Regions from separate parts of the Homo sapiens genome. Here all the other regions are linked to region 3. Evidence: promoter capture Hi-C in 16 types of primary human blood cells and fetal thymus (Javierre and others, 2016). All regions are on one chromosome and are shown on one strand. The core of a region is centred on a gene start or on the middle of the fragment in contact, and the rest is flanking DNA. Distances in the headings are between cores, read along the strand shown.

The links. Contacts are between HindIII fragments. The CHiCAGO score rates a contact against its expected background, and 5 or more counts as called.
Region 1: a fragment that was not itself captured here is called in contact with the fragment with the promoter of VPS35 in region 3 in 1 of 17 cell types (fetal thymus); the score reaches 7.6 in fetal thymus.
Region 2: a fragment that was not itself captured here is called in contact with the fragment with the promoter of VPS35 in region 3 in 1 of 17 cell types (naive CD8 T cells); the score reaches 5.5 in naive CD8 T cells.
Region 4: a fragment that was not itself captured here is called in contact with the fragment with the promoter of VPS35 in region 3 in 5 of 17 cell types (non-activated CD4 T cells, naive CD4 T cells, total CD8 T cells and 2 more); the score reaches 10.0 in non-activated CD4 T cells.
Region 5: a contact is called between a fragment that was not itself captured here and the fragment with the promoter of VPS35 in region 3, in 4 of 17 cell types (naive CD4 T cells, naive CD8 T cells, activated CD4 T cells and 1 more). The highest score is 6.8, in naive CD4 T cells.
Region 6: a fragment that was not itself captured here is called in contact with the fragment with the promoter of VPS35 in region 3 in 1 of 17 cell types (neutrophils); the score reaches 5.1 in neutrophils.
Region 7: a fragment that was not itself captured here is called in contact with the fragment with the promoter of VPS35 in region 3 in 1 of 17 cell types (total CD8 T cells); the score reaches 5.4 in total CD8 T cells.

Annotation. Positions count from the first base shown.
Region 1 is chr16:48,367,540-48,370,239 of GRCh38, forward strand. All of the region lies in intron 1 of SIAH1 (siah E3 ubiquitin protein ligase 1), which reads right to left. Among named protein-coding and RNA genes, the nearest start is that of SIAH1, 17 kb to the right of the region's middle. The HindIII fragment of the contact is 6,116 bases long and covers 1-2,700 here.
Region 2 is chr16:48,598,326-48,601,025 of GRCh38, forward strand. All of the region lies in intron 1 of N4BP1 (NEDD4 binding protein 1), which reads right to left. It also overlaps the pseudogene LOC105371239. Among named protein-coding and RNA genes, the nearest start is that of N4BP1, 11 kb to the right of the region's middle. The HindIII fragment of the contact is 1,017 bases long and covers 781-1,797 here.
Region 3 is chr16:46,687,809-46,690,508 of GRCh38, forward strand. It overlaps VPS35 (VPS35 retromer complex component), which reads right to left and starts at 1,370. Exons shown (of 17, transcript NM_018206.6): 1 at 1,323-1,370. The coding sequence starts at 1,325. ORC6 (origin recognition complex subunit 6) reads left to right here and starts at 1,851. Exons shown (of 7, transcript NM_014321.4): 1 at 1,851-1,962. The coding sequence starts at 1,898. RefSeq lists enhancers at 841-1,538, 1,539-2,237, 2,475-2,554, 2,605-2,674 and silencers at 1,075-1,124, 1,275-1,514, 1,835-2,134. The HindIII fragment of the contact is 9,040 bases long and covers 1-2,700 here.
Region 4 is chr16:48,320,195-48,322,894 of GRCh38, forward strand. The region is part of intron 11 of LONP2 (lon peptidase 2, peroxisomal); the gene reads left to right. Among named protein-coding and RNA genes, the nearest start is that of SIAH1, 64 kb to the right of the region's middle. The HindIII fragment of the contact is 1,402 bases long and covers 609-2,010 here.
Region 5 is chr16:48,632,069-48,634,768 of GRCh38, forward strand. The region is part of intron 1 of LOC105371240 (a long non-coding RNA gene); the gene reads left to right. Among named protein-coding and RNA genes, the nearest start is that of N4BP1, 23 kb to the left of the region's middle. The HindIII fragment of the contact is 5,727 bases long and covers 1-2,700 here.
Region 6 is chr16:48,559,624-48,562,323 of GRCh38, forward strand. N4BP1 (NEDD4 binding protein 1) reads right to left here. Exons shown (of 7, transcript NM_153029.4): 2 at 1,131-2,700. Among named protein-coding and RNA genes, the nearest start is that of N4BP1, 49 kb to the right of the region's middle. The HindIII fragment of the contact is 2,732 bases long and covers 1-2,700 here.
Region 7 is chr16:48,389,873-48,392,572 of GRCh38, forward strand. No RefSeq gene overlaps it. Among named protein-coding and RNA genes, the nearest start is that of SIAH1, 5.8 kb to the left of the region's middle. The HindIII fragment of the contact is 5,448 bases long and covers 1-2,700 here.

The DNA.
Region 1 (2,700 bases), core at 14-2,513, 1.7 Mb after region 3:
TGAGATGGGTAATTTATGTGTATCATGGATGGTACATATTCCAGAATATTTAAGTTTTCAGCTGAGACCTGATTTAATTGCCAAGTCATCAATTAGTCACAGACTCAGAATTTGTAGATTCCAAGAAACACACTCCAAAAGATGCCTTAACCTTGCAAAGGTGATCAAACATGTCTGCCAAGAATCAACCACCATTTAATTTTTAGCACAATAAACCTTAATTCTCAACTAGGTAGAATATTTACACTAGTTTTACAAAAAGCTGAAAAGTTCACAGAAGTACCTTAAGACAAGCCCATAGAATCCAAAACTGGCAAAAATCCAAAACTTAGCAAGAATGCACTATTACCTACACTTTCTAAAGCCTACGTCCCAAGCCCAGTTTGGTATATAGTTTAAGTAGATGTCAATCTAAACAAAAACATTTTAGAATCAGCCTTTAATGTTGTCTTAGTAATTTCAGAGCATTCAGCCATTGCTTTACCACCTTAGCATACTTAACAGTAGAAAGATAAACTTTTATTCTCAATTCCACGTGGTAATCTTTGTTTCCTTTTATAAATTACTTATAAAAGTTTAAAATGGAGAAATGTAGTCAGATATGGAAAAAAATCATAATATATTGTAAATGAAGTTACAAATAGAACACAGACGTGAGGGACGGGGTGAGAAACCAAGAGGGCTACAACATCAGACCAATGAATCAGTTACCTATATGAGGATACTGGTGATTTTTAGCTGTATTTTCTCCAAAGGGGACAATAAACTGCTTTATAAAGATTAGTCTGATTAACAACTGTGAAAACAGTCAAAATGAGCAAAAAGTAAAACATGTTTATTCTTAATTTAGTAAAAAACAACAACAACAAAAAACAGCTGGGCGTGGTGGCTCACGCCTGTAATCACAGCACTTTGGGAGGCCAAGGCAGGTGGATCACCTGAGGTCAGGAGTTCAAGACCATCCTGGCCAACATGGTGATACTTTGTCTCTACTAAGTAAATACAAAAATTAGCCGGGCATGGTGGCGTGTGCCTGTAATCCCAGCTACTTGGGAGGCTGAGGCAGAAGAATCACTTGAACCTGGGAGGCGGAGGCTGCAGTGAGCCAAGATCGACTTGAACCCAGGAGGCGGAGGCTGCAGTGAGCCAAGATCGTGCCACTGCATGCACTCCAGCCTGGGCGACAGAGCAAGATTCCATCTCAAAAAAAAAAGAAAGGGTAGGATGCAATTATCACTACCCCATCTCTAGTAAAACAAAAATTATTCTTAGAAACAATAAAATATAAAATAAAATTATAGGTATCAGATTACAAATTTGCTCTTTCCATTAGAAATCTTAATTAAATAAAACTCCTCCATTCAAAACACTTAAGGCTTTTCTTGTTCCCAGAATGCCTTTAGGTTAAAAGGGTATTTTCCAAACTCATTTGACATTGTGGCAGGTATTATGTAGAAAATGTTTTACGTTAAAATGTTAATTAAACATTGCTTCTATTTGAAGACTTACTTGCTTCTTACACAATGACAAAATCAAAGCAAGTCTCTTAAAAATTCAACAAGTTAAAATGCCAAAAGTTAAAAAATCAAACACTGTTATAAGGACAATAAATTAAACAATCTATAGCTTCCAGAACTGTAGCAAAGCAATAAAATGATTTCTTAAAAATTGTATGTTTTTCCTAAAACCTCCATTTTTCCTGAAGATAATTCTGAAAACTTTGCAGCTACAGAAGAAGTTACACTGAATAGGTATAGAAAGATTGATTACTGGAGATGAGGGAAACCCAGGAAAGCTGCTGTCAACAGAAGACAAAGAGGAAAGGCAAATCCCGACTTAAATGTGTTCAAAGCAAAATACAACACTTGCTAAGTCACTTTATTTTGAGGCTTCCACCCAAGCTAAACATTAGATATACATGGAGTTTGGTGGCTCATACCTGTAATCCCAGCACTTTGGGAGGCTGAGGTGGGAGGATCACTTGAGCCCAAGAGTTTGAGACAAGCCTAGGCAATATACTGAGACCTCATCTCCACAAAAAAAATACAAAAAAATTAGCTGGGTGTGGTGGCATCCGCTGTAGAGCCAGCTATTTGGGAGGCTGAGGTGGGAGGCTCATCTGAGCCTGGGATGTAAAGGCTGCAATGAGCTATGTCTGTGCAACAGAGTGAGACCCTGTCTGGGAAAGAATAAATAAAGTGTAAGATCCCCCTAAAACAATGCAAGCCCTTCAACATGCCAATAGTAAAACTTTCCCTTTCCCACTAGGCACAATAAAGATTGTACTAAGCTCCTAACTTTGTCAAAGCAATTAATCAAACCTAACTACACCTGAATCCTTAATTTTGTGGTGTGATCACAATACTTCAAAGAAAGTTTCTGAAAGGATTACGTAAGTGATTAACTCTCCATCTTAGTCTAAGTCTGAAGCTCTTGCATAAATTCCACAGCTTACAATCCTGGTCACAACTCTCTTCTCTAAGAACTAAGTAAGCTATGCCCACTGTCTTCTGCTATTCAATGATGTAAGTGAAAGAAAAGCCTAATGCCATTTTCATTCTCAACCCTTTGCAGATAACCTTCTGATATGCTAAAGCATTTTCCAAAATATATAGGTATCCTCAATCTCCAGCAAGCCAACAGAGACTGATGGCAAGAATGGCCACTCCCTTCCCTTTCCCTTAAGTAGGAAGAGCCACA
Region 2 (2,700 bases), core at 39-2,538, 1.9 Mb after region 3:
ACACTAATAAAAACATTAATTAACAAAATAATGGCAAAAGGCAGGGAGGAGAGTCAAAGGACTCCTTCCAGGAAAATTTTTAAGGGATCATTAATAAGGTGAGTAAAAAAATCATTGATAGGGGTGATACAAAAAAGGAAAAGAAGGTGGAGAGTCACAGGACTCCTCTCAGCAGGGTGGTTATTAAGATACGGCATGAATAAAATGAAATTAATGAGACTAAAAGATTTTAATACAACACCACTGAAAAATAAGGTATGTCTAAGGGATCCCCTCTTGGTCCCTCAATTTGCCCCACATTGGAGAAATTTAAAGTCAGAAGGCAAAGATTACAATGAGAAATCTGACCTGAAATTGCCTAGGGAGATTAATCAAGGCAAAATTGATAAAGCACAAGTGTCCCTTTGCTTACCCTCTGGCTGGGGACTCAGAGCCTCTGTACACAAGTGGGTAAAACCTTCTGGGGTGGTGAAGATAAATCCCTGAAACTCCTTGATATAGGAGTCCTATGATCCATTGGCAAAGAAAGCCCCGACTAGGGCTACTAGATTGGGAGAATATGAAAAGGTAAGGGTTGACAGGATTATATAAACTGGAATGGTAATAAACACACTTTAAGTTAAAAAGTTGTATCTCCTTTACTTGAATGTTTTATGGAAATGGATGTTATGTCTGGTAGGGAAACACTTCCCCTACCTAGTACTGTAAAACCAAAACCGGTTCATAAAGTCCTAACAGAGGCTAAAGTTAGGAAAGTAAGGTTGATGGAATTAGGGTACAAGCTTGGAGAACTGGTATATCTGAGTCGTATACTGGTATAATAACTATAATTTTTTCTTTCTTTCCAGTAACACCTCGATTCCCACTGCCCCCGCCCCTCATCCCCATCTGATACAGTGGTCACAGGACCAGGGCTGCAACTACAGTTGCACTAAGCAGGGATGATTCCTAAGCAAGTTAACTGCAACTGTTTTTAAACCCTATGTCAGAATTCCTAAGGAGCTAATGGGGGCATGGTTGTTCTTTCACAAATTCTGGCAAAATAGAGGGTAAGAGGAAAACTCCCACACATCTTGTGTTAGAAGCATGTTAGAGTCCACATAAGCAGGAGAAACTGTGTCAGTTATTCCTACATTCTCACAAGGACATTCACCAGTTTTGTACCCAAATCTAGCAATCTTATTCTAACACTGTTTTTTCAGCACCTGTACTCATTTCCTCCAATGCTCCTTGAACCAGTTTTCCAATCCAGCTGGTTCCCTCACAAATGAGTTAAATGAATGCTTGCTATATGCTCACTTTTTAGGAATTATAATTTTTAAAACACATGGAAAATAATGTAATCCATATTTTGTTTAGGGTAGCGATGTGCCTAGGTAAAACTGAACATTTCATAGCTTGCTTTACTACTAGTGGTCACATGATATAGTTCTAGCCAATTAGAGGTAAGCAGAAACCTGCTAGGGTTTTCTGGAAAACTGTTACCTCTTCTTCCATCCTTCCTTCTTAAAGGCCTGATGGCTGGAGCTGCAGTGGTCATTTTGTGACCATAAGGGTACAGTTTGTAATCATTACTCACCCTTGGACTGCTGCTTATCTTTTGACTTTTTAAATGAAAGAAAACCCTTATTTTGTATAGGTTTCTATTATTGCAGGCAAATTCATTACCTAATAGAGATACATCAACCTTCATTAACCTACCTATTATAACAAAGTAACAATTTCATTTTCTTAATTTAAAAAATACCAGGGTCAAGAATGAAACATACTGTGAATTAAATATGCTGATTCTTCTCAAGCTTGGCATTTGGTTGGTGGTGACCCATGCAGGTTTAACATGTGTACTGTGAAGTGTTATTTCTGTTTGGGCCCATCTACCCTGGCCACGGCATGATGTTCATCCGCAACGACTGAAAGGTGTTCAGATTTTGTAAATCTAAATGTCATAAAAACTTTAAAAAGAAGCACAATCCTTGCAAAGTTAGGTGGACCAAAGCATTCCGGAAAGCAGGTGGCAAAGAGCTTACACTGGATAATTCATTTGAATATGAAAAACATAGAAATGAAACCATCAAATACCAGTGAGAGCTATGGAATAAAACTACTGAAGCAATGAAGACAGTTGAAGAGATCAAACAGAAACGCCAAGCTAAATTTATAATGAACAGATTGAAGAAAAATAAGAGCTACAGAAAGTTCAGGATATCAAACAGGTCAAGCAAAACATCCATCTTATCTGAGTTCCTCTTGCAGGCAAAGGGAAGCAGTTGGAAGAGAAAACAGTACAGCAGTTACAAGAGAATGTGGACATGGAAGATGCTTCTTAAAAATCTCTGTAACCATTTCTTTTATGTACATTTGAAAATGCCCTTTGGAGACTTGGAACTGCTAAATTATTTTTTACATAAGGTCACTTAAATGAAAAGTGATTAAAATATATCTTTCCTACACTGCCATCTACAAAACATCAGATATTACAGATGTTAGATTGCATCTCAGTGTTAAATCTTCACTGATAGATATGTAAATCACGAAAATTCTACTTATAACTATAGAAGTGAATTGTGGATGTAAAATGGTTATGCCAATTGGATAATGGCACTAGGTGGCATTTGTATAATAAGTAATGGCAAAAAATCATGGCTAGTGATATATAAAATAAAATATTATTTGCAGCCAAATATTCCCTTTATTAATGTT
Region 3 (2,700 bases), core at 120-2,619:
TAAATTATAGACAGTGACTGTGAAAGAACGAATACTCAAGTTTCCTTTCCCAATAAAATTCATGAGGACAAGACTGTGTGTCTGGCTGATTGCTCCCAACTGGTTCACCCAACAAAGAATCGGAGTGTGTAATACATCCTCAATTAAGTGTTTTCCATTACAAAACAATATAAATGTCAATCCATAAACGCTGGAAACACACAAATCCTAAAGTTAAATTTTGCGCCGGTCTTGTATCAATTCCCAATTATAAAAATCCTGAGAAACAGGCAAAATCACCTTGTACGGCAACACGTTATATGAAAATAGTATTTGTAAAACACTTAATCCTTTCTGGCATTAAGACATTTAAAGTGAAATCTGTTTCCAGGCTTACAGATTTACAGAAGCCTATCTACACAGAGTGAGTAAGGTAATTAAAGCGGACATACAGTATATACTCAAAAAATTTATTTACACAGTGCAGGCTATGTTAAACGCTAATAAAATGCAAGTGACAACTTGCCTTTGTGGGAACCAGACACAAAGATTCACATTTTGAGGAAGTTCAAGTTTACCGGCCAACAGCCACACCACGATTTGCTGCCGTCATAGACGGGCCCTAAGGAGAAGTACTGCTTCCAGCAAGTCAAATACTTGGATTTTATCAATGGCGAGACAAAAGAGGCAAGGTGCGCCCAATGCACAAATGCTAAAGTAAACAATCAGTCTCCTTTGCGACCGTCAGGATTAGAAGACAGCCTGAGTCCTTCCAGGAAATTCATGTAAGCAGGTCCCCAGAACTCGCTGACAAACACTGCAGCCGAAGGCGGGTATGAGGCCAAGAAAGGCCAAGGAATCACTGCGACCCCTCCAGGAGGGCGTGGGGACGGCCGAGCACAACTAGGCACAAAGGTAGAAACGCAACATCTGGGCGGGTCCCGGCGCCACCTCCGAGTCTCAGGGCCTCCACGCGCCCCGGGGGCCAGACGCTCAGACCTAGGACTACCGGTCCCCTCGTGGTAGGCAGGTGACCGATTCCACTTAAAGGAGGCCGCAGGCCTTCATGGACCCCAAAGCCTACATGCCAAGTCAACCCCACAGAGAGGCCGCCCCGTCTCTCAGCAACGGCCGCAGCCAAGAGCCGCCGCCCACCCCGGCCCGGATCAGCCTGCCCGCGGCCTTCCTCCTGCTGTCCCCTATCCCGCAGGCCAAATCGGGCTGGTCTTAATCCCGAACGGTCTGTGGGGCCCCTTCTCCACTCGCTGGAGTGCGGGGCGGTGGGAGAGAGCAGGGGCTACAAGGAGGGTCGACCCAGGTGCCACTGCCCCCTCAGCACTCACCATGGCGACTCCCCAGAGCCTGCAGCAAGCAGCACCCGCCCCGCGCGTAGCCTCCCGCGGTCATGTGACGCTGCGGCCCCTCCAAGCCCCGCCCTCTCTAGCCCCGCCCCCGGGCCCTACAGGCGGCTCATTGATTGGCCTACTTCTAGGAACCCGAGTCTCGCGTGCTTATTGGCCCTGTCACTTAACGCTAGATGGACGGACCTGAGCGCCAGCCAATCTCACCACAGCGTGCGAGAGTGGGCGGAGCAGTGCAGGGCAGTGGGGATCGCCCGGCGGCAGGCAGGAGACAACAGGAGGGAAAGGCAGTGTGTGATGAGTTTGTCAAGAAGGAATGGAAGGAGGGGGAGCCGACAAGTCCACGTTCACCGCATCTGCGTTGGCGATTGCGCTATTGATGCGCATGCGCAAAAGGAAGACCCTGATTGGTTTGTGGGACGGTCTCAACGTCCTGTCCTAACCAATCCAGATGCGCCGGGGGTGGGGCCTGGCTCTCACTGGCCGGTGCAGCCTTTGCGCGCGGGTTTCGTTGACCCGCGGCGTTCACGGGAATTGTTCGCTTTAGTGCCGGCGCCATGGGGTCGGAGCTGATCGGGCGCCTAGCCCCGCGCCTGGGCCTCGCCGAGCCCGACATGCTGAGGTGAGTTCGGCCGCGCAAGACCAGGGCTGGGCTTCCGCCTCGCGGCCCTGGGCCCTCAGGTGAGGCCCGCGCCCTTCCCAGGCGACGGGCGGCGGGGGAGTGACGGGGAGCGCTGGGGCCGGGCGGGGTTTAGGGCCTACTTCAAGAAAAACTTCTCGGCCGTGAGCTTGAATGAGATGGCAAGAAGGGCGATAGCAAACGGCGATGGCACACGTCCCTGGGAACAGCCAGCCCTGTCCGTGGGTAGAAAAATGAGCCAGGGAGAACTTTCCGTTCATTCCGCCAACGCCTACTGCAGTCGGGTTTATAGCGGGGAACCCGACAACGAGGCGCAGACCCCGCTGTCTGTAAGGGCGAGGACTGTGTAGACCTTAACCGGGCAATGCTCCTGAGCCACTGGGCTTGGGGTGGAGCGCGGCCTAGCGGCTGCCTTTAACACAAAGAAACAAACAAAACTCGGAAAAGCAGGCGCCGTTCCCGCTGAGGCCGGATTGATGGCAGATGCTAGGCGAGGAAAGATATGGCAAGAGCAGCCCAGGCAGGGGCGACAGCTCCTGTAAAAGCGTTGAGATGGGAAGCGGGATCCGGGGTTCGAAATAAAGCCATTGTAGCTAAAACGTGGAGCAGTCAGGCGAGGGAAGGCAAGGAAAACAGCACTTAAAAGATTTGAAGACAAACCTGCAGGACTCGGTAGTCATTTAGAACAGTGGTTCTCAAAATGTGGTTCCTGGACCAGCA
Region 4 (2,700 bases), core at 60-2,559, 1.6 Mb after region 3:
CGCATTGAAGTTTATACTGTAGAATATCCATCAAACTTGAGCTGATTTCTTATCAAAGACCCAGGTTGCACAGATAGGGGTTAGAAGTTTGGATTCGGTTTTGCATTTTCAGTATTTAAAGTCTTGTTTCATCTTGTTCATTCTTACCTTTCCTTTGATTGTATTAGTAGCTCAGGACAAATAAGAATTTATAATTTTCCAAGGAACTAAGGTTGCTGTTGAGGAATATGGGTTTCAGAGACAAGAGTTTAGGCACTGGCTCATTGGTACTAAGCTTCAGGGGTTTGTAGTGTTGTTAGAGCTAATTGGATTTTACAAATAAGCCAAGATTATTAAAAAAAAAAAATAGATCTAGAGAGTAACACTTTCTGTGCTAAATCCATTGCATTTGATGGGATACTAGGCAGTATGCTATGTCCAAACTTCTAAAATCAGGCGGTGGTCTAACGTTGAGGTGAAAATATCATGTTGGTATATACTGCCAATATCATGAAGATATACTAAATATTATTTTCTGAGTCTGACATTTACACTGATTTACTGATTTATCCCTCATCAATATTGGCCTGGTTTAAGAGAGACTTGTTTGCCTGTACAGACCGGGAGGAAGCTTCAATGAAGGCAAAAATCTAACTATAATAGGAGCCAAACATTTGTTATTTGAATTCCAATTGGGGACAGGAAAATAAAATATTATCAAATAATTATAAAGTCATCATTCTGTTAAATGAATCATATAGGAAAATGCATTGACCTTAAAACAGAGTCTGGCTCTGTTACCCGGACTGGAGTGGAGTGGCCTGGTTTCAACTTGCTGCAACCTCCACCTCACGGGCTTAAGCTGTCCTCCCACCTCAGTCCCTAGAGTAGCTGGGACCACAGGTTTTGCCATGTTGCTCAGGCTGTTCTCAAACTCCTGAGCTCAAGAAATCCACCTGTCTCAGCCTCCTGAAGTGCTGGGATTACAGGCGTGAGCCACCGCGCCCGGCCTGCAGTGACCTTTGGTTGTCATTGTTATACATTATCAAAACAAACTCAAGTTACAAGAGTATTAAAGCAATACTTAATGGTTTTAAAAAAAATATTACAAAAGGTCTCTGCATTTTAACTACTCATCTAAATAATTGTCTAGGAATATTTTCTGAATCTCTAATACAGGAAATGAGATTTATTAATACATAAAACCCACTGAAAACAGGGGTGCAAACTTTCTTGTCTGGTACTAAAGATGGATTCCTATGTTTTGGGCCCTTGTTTATACCAGTTTATTCAATCAGTGAGTCAGCTAGCATTTACTGAATAGTCATATGCGTTGCTTAATGATGGGGATAATGTTCTGAGAAGTGCATCCCTGGGAAATTTTGTCATTGTGGAAACATCATAGAGTGTACTTACACAAACCTAGATGGTATAGCTTTCTACACACCTAGGCTATATGGTATAGCCTGTTAATCCTAGGCTATAAACTTCTACAGCATGTGACTATACTGAATACTGTAGGCAATTATAACAGAGTGGTATTTGTATATCTAAACAACAGATGAACAATAAAGAAAAAATAAACAACAAATAAAAGCTGGTACTTCTGTATAAAGGCACTTACCATGAATGGAGTTGCAGGACTGGAAGTAGCTCTGCGTGAGTCAGCAAGTGAGTGGGAGTGAATGTGAAAGCCTAGGACATTACTGTGTATATACTACTATAGACTTATTAACACTGTACACTTAGCCTGTATTTTTTAATTTTTTTCTTTTTTTTTTTTTACTTCTTTTTCTTTTTTTGAGACAGGCTGTGTTGCTCAGGCTGGTCTTGAACTCTTGGGCTCAAGTGATCCTTCTACCTCATCCTCCTAAGTAGCTGGGATTACAGGTGTGTGCCACCACACCCAGCTTTTTAAAACTTTTCAAATCTTTTATAATAACACTCAGCTTAAAACACAAATACACTGTATAGCTATACAAAAAATATTTTTACCCCATTTATGCCTAGTGCTCCATTATTGGAACACTAAGCTTGTGGGAGTTATTTATATCCTACTGCTCAAGGTCATTGCCAAGGTCTGATTTTTCACAAAAAAAAATTCACAACTTCTGGCATAAATGGGTTAATATCCTTACTGTATATAAGCTTTTTTAAAAATTGTTTTACTTTTTAAACTTCTTTGTTAAAAGCAAAGACACAGACACACATTAGCCCAGTCCTGAACTAGGTCAGGATCTTCAGTTTCACTGTCTTCCACTTCCACATCTTGGCCCACTGGAAGGTCTTCAGAGGCAGTAACATGCATGGATAACAGTGCCTTCTACCTTCTGAAGGACCTGCCTGAGGCTGTTTTACAGTTAACTTCTTTTTTACAGAAGGGAGTACACTCTAAAATAATGATGAAAAGCATAGTATAGTCCAGGCACGATAGTGTGTGCCTGTAGTCCCAGCTACTCAGGAGGCTGAGGCAGGAAGATTGCTTGAACCCATGAGTTCAAGACCAGTCTGGGCAACATAGCGAGACTCCACCTCTAAAAATATATATAAGAATAAAAAATTTTTTTTAAATGAAGCATAGTAAGTACATAAACCAATAACATAGTCACTCACTATGACTATGAAGTATTATGTACTGTATGTAATTGTACGTGCTGTGCATTTATACAGCTGGCAGCACAATAGGTTTGTGTACACCAAGCATCACCACAAAGATTTGGG
Region 5 (2,700 bases), core at 98-2,597, 1.9 Mb after region 3:
TGCAGGGGTTGGAAAACTACTTATTGGGTCCTATGCTTGTGACAGAATCAATCGTACCTTAAACTTCGGCATCATGCAATATACCCATGTAACAAACCTGCATGTATATCCTCTGCATCTAAAACAAAAGTTGAAATTAAAAAAGAAAAGAAGAGACGTGGCTGGGCAAGGTGGGTCACACCCATAATCCCAGTACTTTGGGTGGGCACCTGTAATCTCAGCTACTCAGGAGGCTGAGGCAGGAGAATCGCTGGAACCTGGGAGGTGGAGGTTGTAGTGATCTGAGATCACGCCACTGCATTCCAGCCTGAGGAACAAGAGTGAAACTCCATCTCAAAAAAAAAAAAAAAAAAGAAGAGACGTGGTTGTGCTAGGTTAATAATAAACCCTAAACTCTCAGCAGTTCAAAAGAACAGAGTGTCTTTCTCACCCCATGCTGTGTGTCCACTGCAGGTCCACCAGGGGCTCTGCTTGTCTTAGTCACTCAGGGGCCTTGTGTGACAGAGACTCCATCTCAACAAGTGCTTCTGTGACCCAGCAGGCAGTAAAAAGAGGATGGAGACCACAGACTGACCTGTCTGCTTCTGCCTAAAAGTGACACATGTCATTTTCACTCATACTTCATGGGCCAAAGCAGATCACATGGCCGTGCACGAGCTCAAGTGGGTGGAGAGGTGCAGCCCCACCATGTGCCCAGAAAGAGAGCTGAGCATTTGAGACCTTTCTTTCTTCTTTTCTGCTTTCCCTCTTCCCTTCTTCCTGCTTTCCTTCCCTTCTTATTTACTAAGTGCCTACTATTTAGATGATGTATCCTCACTGGGATTATCATTTGTTATTTAAAAAATTTAAATAATAAATTTAATTTGTTTTGTTATTTATTATTTACTTTTTTTTTTTTTCTGAGATGGGGTCTTGCTCTGTCACCCAAGCCAGAGTGCAGTGGCACGATCTCAGCTCACTGCAACCTCCGCCTCCCAGGTCCAAGCGATTCTCCAGCCTCAGCCTCCTGAGTAGCTGGGGTTACAGGCATGCGCCACCGTGCCAAGCTAATTTTTGTATTTTCAGTAGAGATGGGGTTTTGCCATGCTGGCCAAGCTGGTCTCAAACTCCTGAGCTCAGGTGATCCACCCACCTTGGCCTCCCAAAGTCCTGGGATTACCGATGTGAACCACTGTGCCTGGCCTGTTTTTATTTTCTAAAGATGGGGTCTTGCTCTGTTGCCCAACCTAGAGTGTAGTGGCTATTCACAGATATTATCATAGCTCACTGCATAGCTCACTGCAGAACCTGGGTTTACTGATGCACACCACTGCACCCAGCCTCACTGGGATTATAAAATAAGACAAAACTCCGTCCTCAAGGCTCACATGATCTCATGGCCGAGTCAGAAAAGCCGACCAAGATCAGCACAAGTTGATATGTGAACACAGATATGAGGCAGCTCACCCAGCCTGGTGTGAAGCTAAGGAAGGCTTCCTGGAGGACGTCCCCAAGGAAGGTAGGAACAAGCCTGATGAGAGGCAGGGGAACCTGAATAGCACAGCTCATGCCTGTAATCTTAGCTACCAAGAAGGCAGAGGCGGGAGGATATCTGGAATCCAGGTGTTCAAGACCAGCCCAGGCAACATAGCAAGACTCTTAAAAAAAAAAGACGCAGGGAGATCATTTTCAGCAGAAAGAGCAGAAGATGAAAATGTCTGCAGGAGAGCTCTGTGGCCAGCAGTAAGATGTTCTGCAGGCCTGAGGAATGTTGTGGGGGATGGTGTGAGGATGAGCAGGCACAGCAGGAAGTGGGTCCAGACCACTTAAGGCTTCAGGACCACTGGAGACTGGATTTCCTGAGAAGGCCATGGGGGCCATAGAGAGGCTGGTTAAATTTATTTTATTTTTTCCAATTTAGCCTTGACTTGAAACTCATAAATTTGTTTTCTCTGAGACAGGGTCTCACTATGTTGCCCAGGCTGAACTCAAACTCCTGGGCTTGAGCCATCCTCCTGCCTCAGTCTCCCGGGGTACTACAGGTGTAAGCCACCATGCCCGCCTGCCATAGAAAGGTTTTAAGCAGGACATTAACACTGTGAGGTCCTCTCTCTGTAGGGTGGGTTGGAGGGGAAAGGATTGAGAACAGAGAGACAGCACTTTGAGAGGCTGAGGCAGGTGGATCGCTTGAGGTCAGAAGTTCAAGAACAGCCTGGCCAACATGGTGAGATCCCGTCTCTACTAAAAATACAAAAATTAGCTGGGCGTGGTGGTGTGTGCCTGTAATCCCAGCTATTCAGGAGGCTGAGGCAGGAGAATTACTTGAACCTGGGAGGCGGAGGTTGCAGTGAGCCGAGATGGCACCACTGCATTCCAGCCTGTGCAACAAGAGTGAAACTCCATCTCAAAAAAAAAAAAAAAAAAAAGAAAGGAAAGATAGGATGCTGATGTCATAGCTAGAGGGAGATGACAGAGCCTCAAATGCAGGCAATGTTTGGGGACATAGAGAGGATAAAATTGATCAGAGAGGTGATATGCAGAGGCAGCCTATAGGACTTGGTTTTTATGGAAAGTGGGAGTAACGCTGAACCTTAAGAATGTCTGGGTTTCAAATGGCATGGAATGGCTGAGGTGTATTATTCATTCAGGATACTTATTAATGTCTATCATGGGTTCTTTCTGGGTGCTTGGAATACATCAGTGTTAAAAGAGACCAAAAAA
Region 6 (2,700 bases), core at 100-2,599, 1.9 Mb after region 3:
GGCTGCCAATTGTTCAGACCACTTCTACATAAGGCAAATGCCTCATCACAGGATGCCTGGATAAGGCAAATGCCAACCCGTAGGTAATCAAGCTGTTTCTGCAGGGCAATTCCCTTTTCTGCCTATAAATACTGCCAGCCCTCATTGCTGGGTGAAGCTCTCTGAACCTCTCCTGGTTCAGGGTGCTGCCAGATTCGTAAATCATTGTTCGTGCAGATCAACTCTGCTAAATGTAATTTGCCCTAAGTTTTTCTTTTAACAATGGGGTGACTGGTTTTGAAAACTGAAGGCAGACTTTACATAGTTGTTGAAATGATATGGTAAAGATGTCCTTAAGGACAGGTCAGAAGGCAACAGATTGCAGCAACTGAAACTCCGAACAGTTAAGTGACCTGCCCCAAATCAAACAGCTGGTCCACAGTGCAGGGAGGCTCTTGACCCTCACACTCTCCTTAGCCACGATCTTAAACTGCCCCTTAGAAAAAAAACCCAAGCGTACAGGTTTCAAATCAGAGGATTTTCAACTAAGAGGAGTTCCAAGACAGGCTAACTAGAAACAACAGGTTCATTAAATGATGTCTTTTACTAAAAACAAATATTATAAACTTTTAGTAAGAGCAGAGGCCCACAGTGAAGCTCAAAGTGACTACTTTTGAAAGGAAATTGCCATTGCTCTATCCACAGAAATACATCACACCTGTTACCACTGCACACTCTTGGCTAGAGATCAGGCATACTCCAGCATAATAAGATAAAAAAAAATCCTTTTGCTTTAAGCTGTGTTCTCTTATTTAGATTAGAACATAATGGTACTCACAATATTAAGAATTTAATGACTTAAAAGTCACTATACTACATATCACTGAGCAATGCAACGTGAAAAGATAATTTTCTATCCTCTCTTGCCCTTAGAAATTAAGTTCAGCAGGGTGAAGTAAAGTTCATGAATCCAGAAGATGGACTGACAAAACCTTTCCAACCAGTTGGTTCCCATTCCCCTCCACCATCCGACCCTAAGGCTACAGATCAACTATATACAACATGTATGTATAGTTCCCATATACATGTGATTCTGAGACACCATTTAGAGCCCTATTTAAAATAAAATAATCTGCAGAGAATGGACTTACGTAATTGCAACATTGCTCCCATCTATAACAATGTGTTTCAAATCCGTTCTCCCTGGTTCATTTTTTAATTCCAGCTTGTAGGGTATTTTTAGAGTATCTCGAAACCTTTGAACCCCAGTAACTGAGGAATCAATATGATCAGAAGGTCCTGCCGACCTTGCATCAGTAACCGAAGGTAACAGCTGGGGCAGTGGCATTGGTGGAGAAAGGGTTGAGCAATTTGGCTTAGAATGAGGAGAACTACAACATCCTAAACGTTTTTCACAGGCAGATTTCATATTATTTGGAAGCAAGGGTTCTGGCTGCTGGTGTAAACCATTTTCAGGAAAAAGTGGAACTCTGGGCTGGTGACTTGAAGCTCCCCTTGAAACAAAATTGACTTCTTTGGGACTTGGAGAGGCAACAGAAGGTGAAAGGCCATCAGTTTCAGGGTCTGTGTTACAAATGTAGTTCTGGTTTGAACCCCAGACTTCATGTTTCTGTTCTATTGGCACTGTTCTGAAAGTATTAATTCTACAATTTGAGGTACATGGTTTAGCTTCCACTTTGAATGGTAACTGAGAAAATTTTTCTACCATATTTTGCTGTGTGTGAGCCTGTGTTTTCTTTGGAGTGGAATCAGTTGTAAGCTCATTTGTGCTGCTATAAACACCTTTATTTTTGGTTTTGTTGGTCTCTGGATACACTGTACCAGCTGAAAATTCTCTGTCTTCTTGGAATCTTTTATTTTCTTTTTCAATTTCCTCTAAGAGCAATAATGGTTCAGTAGATGGTCCATACACCTTAATGACCTTTTCAACAATTTCTTGGGAGTAGCCCATGGTTTTAAAAAAGTTTACGAGGATGTTGTATTCCATTTCCTCAGTAGTTTCTTTTATATCTGGACTTAAATTTTCAGAATCAGCAGAAGAATCAGATAGGTCAGCTATTACATTTCCAGCCAATGTCTTAGCATCGTGTAAAATCTCCCCCTCCTGAACATTTTCCAAAGAAAACTGCTTCTTCGTATGCCTTTCTTCAGAATCAGAAAATCTCCTTTTCTGACAAATTCTCTCATTGGAAAGTGCCTCTTCATCTGGGGTTAGACCATTTATTGGATCAAAAAGCACATCTGGTGAGCTAGAAAGGACTGTGTCCATTTGTTTTGTAAGCTCAGAAACAGGAGTCCCAGCTTTATTTCTTGCCTCTTCCTGCAAAACAGTTTCATCTCTAGAAATATTCAGCCCTGTGGCAGCATTCTGTGTAAACTCTGTTTGTTGAGAATCTCTCATTTCAATAACCTCATCATCTCCTGTTTCAAAGAGATTCTCCTCACCTTGTGTGAGTGTCAAAAGTTCTTTTTTCAAGGAAGTGGGCAAAATCAACAAATCCATTGTGTAATTGTCTGCATGGGCTTCAACAAATTGTTTGAATTCCCTTTTCACCTCTGATTCTTTCTGACTACTGGGTAGGTTCTCTTTATTTTCAAAGAGCTTTACAAATTGTTGAATGTGACTCCTAGCCATGACCACAGCCTCAGCACTTCCTCTGATGCCAAGAAGGCCAATGTCCAGAATGCAGAGGTCAGCAC
Region 7 (2,700 bases), core at 185-2,684, 1.7 Mb after region 3:
TTGTTGAGCAAATGAAGAAATATTAAACAAGGACCATGCCCTTAACTATCACGGTCTATGGAATCTGTTTCCAGTTTCTCTTTTACATCCTTTCATTCATTGTTAGTAGATATTTGACTTTCTTTCCAAATTATCTTGGAGAAACTAGCATTTAGAAACATTTAGCATTCAAGAAATGCTTAACACACGCACAAGTTCATGGGTTACTTAATTTTTTTTTTTTTTGAGACGGAGTCTCGCTCTGTCACCTAGGCTGGAGTGCAGTGGCGTGATCTCGGCTCACTGCAAGCTCCGCCTCCCGGGTTCACGCCATTCTCCTGCCTCAGTCTCCCGAGGAGCTGGGACTACAGGCGCCCGCCACCACGCCTGGCTAATTTTTTGTATTTTTAGTAGAGATGGGGTTTCACTGTGTTAGCCAGGATGGTCTCGATCTCTTGACCTCGTGATCTGCCCGCCTCTGCCTCCCAAAGTGCTGGGATTACAGGTGTGAACCACCGTGCCAGGCGGGTTACTTAATTTAATACTAACAAATATATGAAGTGAGCACTGCTTTCCCATTTTACAGATGAGGAAATGGAAACTCAGAAAGGATAAAGAACTTTCCCATGGCATGTACTAATAAGTGGAGGTGTGGAAGTTAACATCCAGGTCCGTCTGGCCCCAGAGCCTTTGCTCCTTCCTCATTCATCGTGTCTTACAGCTGAGGAGAAACATGATCTGTGATTCATATTCATCCAGGAGGGCTTACACATGAATCTGCAGGGCCCTCAAGTCCTTTATGAGAATTTGTCAATTCAGGGTTTTCATTTTAATGAATTTTAGAAGGATGAATTAAAGTATATTTTACATTATCTAAACAACTACCTGCAATTCACTATGTTAATGAAAAAATGGCCAGGTGCGGTGGCTCATGCCTGTAATCCCAGCACTTTGGGAGGCTGAGGCAGGTGGATCACCTGAGGTGAGGAGTTCGAGACCAGCCTGGCCAACATGGCGAAACCCCATCTCTACTAAAAATACAAAAATTAGCCAGGTGTGGTGGTGGCAGGCATCTGTAATCCCAGCTACTTGGGAGGCTGAGGCAGGAGAATCGCTTGAATCCAGGGGGCGGAGGTTGCAGTGAGCCGAGATCGTGCCACTTTACTCCAGCCTGGGCGAAAGAGCGAAACTCCATCTCAAAAAACACATGCACACAAAAGTTATAACACTTAGGGTACAGTGGTGACCGCTAGACGCATTAAAGCTGCAATGGTTAAAGGGGTTATTTCTGGCAAAAAGTACTAGGAAAGGGGAACTAGGTGGAGTTGGGGTAGAGAAAAGGGAGAATTTTTTTTTTTTTTTTGAGACAGGGTCTTGCCCCATCACCCAGGCTGGAGTGCGGTGGTGCGATCAGAGCTCACTGCTGCATCGACCTCCTGGGCTCAAGCGATCCTCCTGCCTCAGCTTTCAAAATAGCCACCACACCCAGGTAATTTTTGCATTTTTTGTAGAGACGGGGTTTCACCATATTGCCCAGGCTGGTCTCAAACTCCTAGGCTCAAGCAATCCACCCACCTAGGCCTCCCTAAATGCTGGGATTACAGGCACGAGCCACCGCGGCCAGTCTAAAGTCTATGTGATATTTGAATGAGAAAGCAGGCTCAAGGCTGGGCAAGGCGGCTCACGCCTGTAAACCCAGGACTTTGGGAGGCCTAGGTGGGTGGATCACTTGAGGTCAGGAGAAACCCTGTCTCTACTAAAAATACAACAATAACAAAAAAAATTTAGCTGGGCGTGGTGGCACACTTCTGTAGTCTCAGCTACTTGGAAGGCTGAGGCAGGAGAATCGCTTGAACCTGGGAGGTGGAGAGGTTGCTGACCTGAGATTGCACCACTGCACTCCAGACTGGTTGACAAAGCAAGACTTGGTCTTAAAAAGAAAAAAAAATGCCTGGCTGGGCACGGTGGCTCATGCCTGTAATCCCAGCACTTTGGGAGACGGAGGCGGGTGGATCACCTGAGGTCGAGAGTTTGAGACCAGCCTGACAAACATGGAGAAACCCCATCTCTACTAAAACTACAAAATTAGCCAGGCATGGTGGTGCATGCCTGTAATCCCAGCTACTCGGGAGGCTGAGACAGGAGAATTGCTTGTACCTGGGAGGTGGAGGTTTCAGTGAGCCAAGATCGTGCCACTGCACTCCAGCCTGGGCAACAAGAGGGAGACTCCATCTCAAAAAAAAAAAAAAGTCTACAACCTAATCCCCAGAACCTGTGAATAAATTACTTTATGTGGCAAAAAGGACTTAGCATATGTGATTGAGTTAAGGATTTTGAGATGAAGACATTATCCTGGACTATCCCATGGGCCAAGAGATAGAAGACGTGATAACAAGAGGTCTGAGCCAGGCTCAGTGGCTCACACCTGTAATCCCTTTGGAGGCCAAGGCAGGAGAAGCACTTGAGCCCAGGAGTTTGAGACCAGTCTGGGCAACATAGCAAGACTCTATCTCAACAAACAACAACAACAAAAGCAGAGGTCAGAGAGACCCAGAAAGGGGCCATGAGCCATGGAATGCAGGAGGCCTCTAGAAAACTGAAAAGGCAAGGAAACAGATTCTTTCCCTGGAGTATCCACATGGGGTCAGCCCGGCCGACACCTTGATGTTAGCCCCATAAGACTAATTTTAGACTTCTGACCTCTGGAACTGTAATATAATA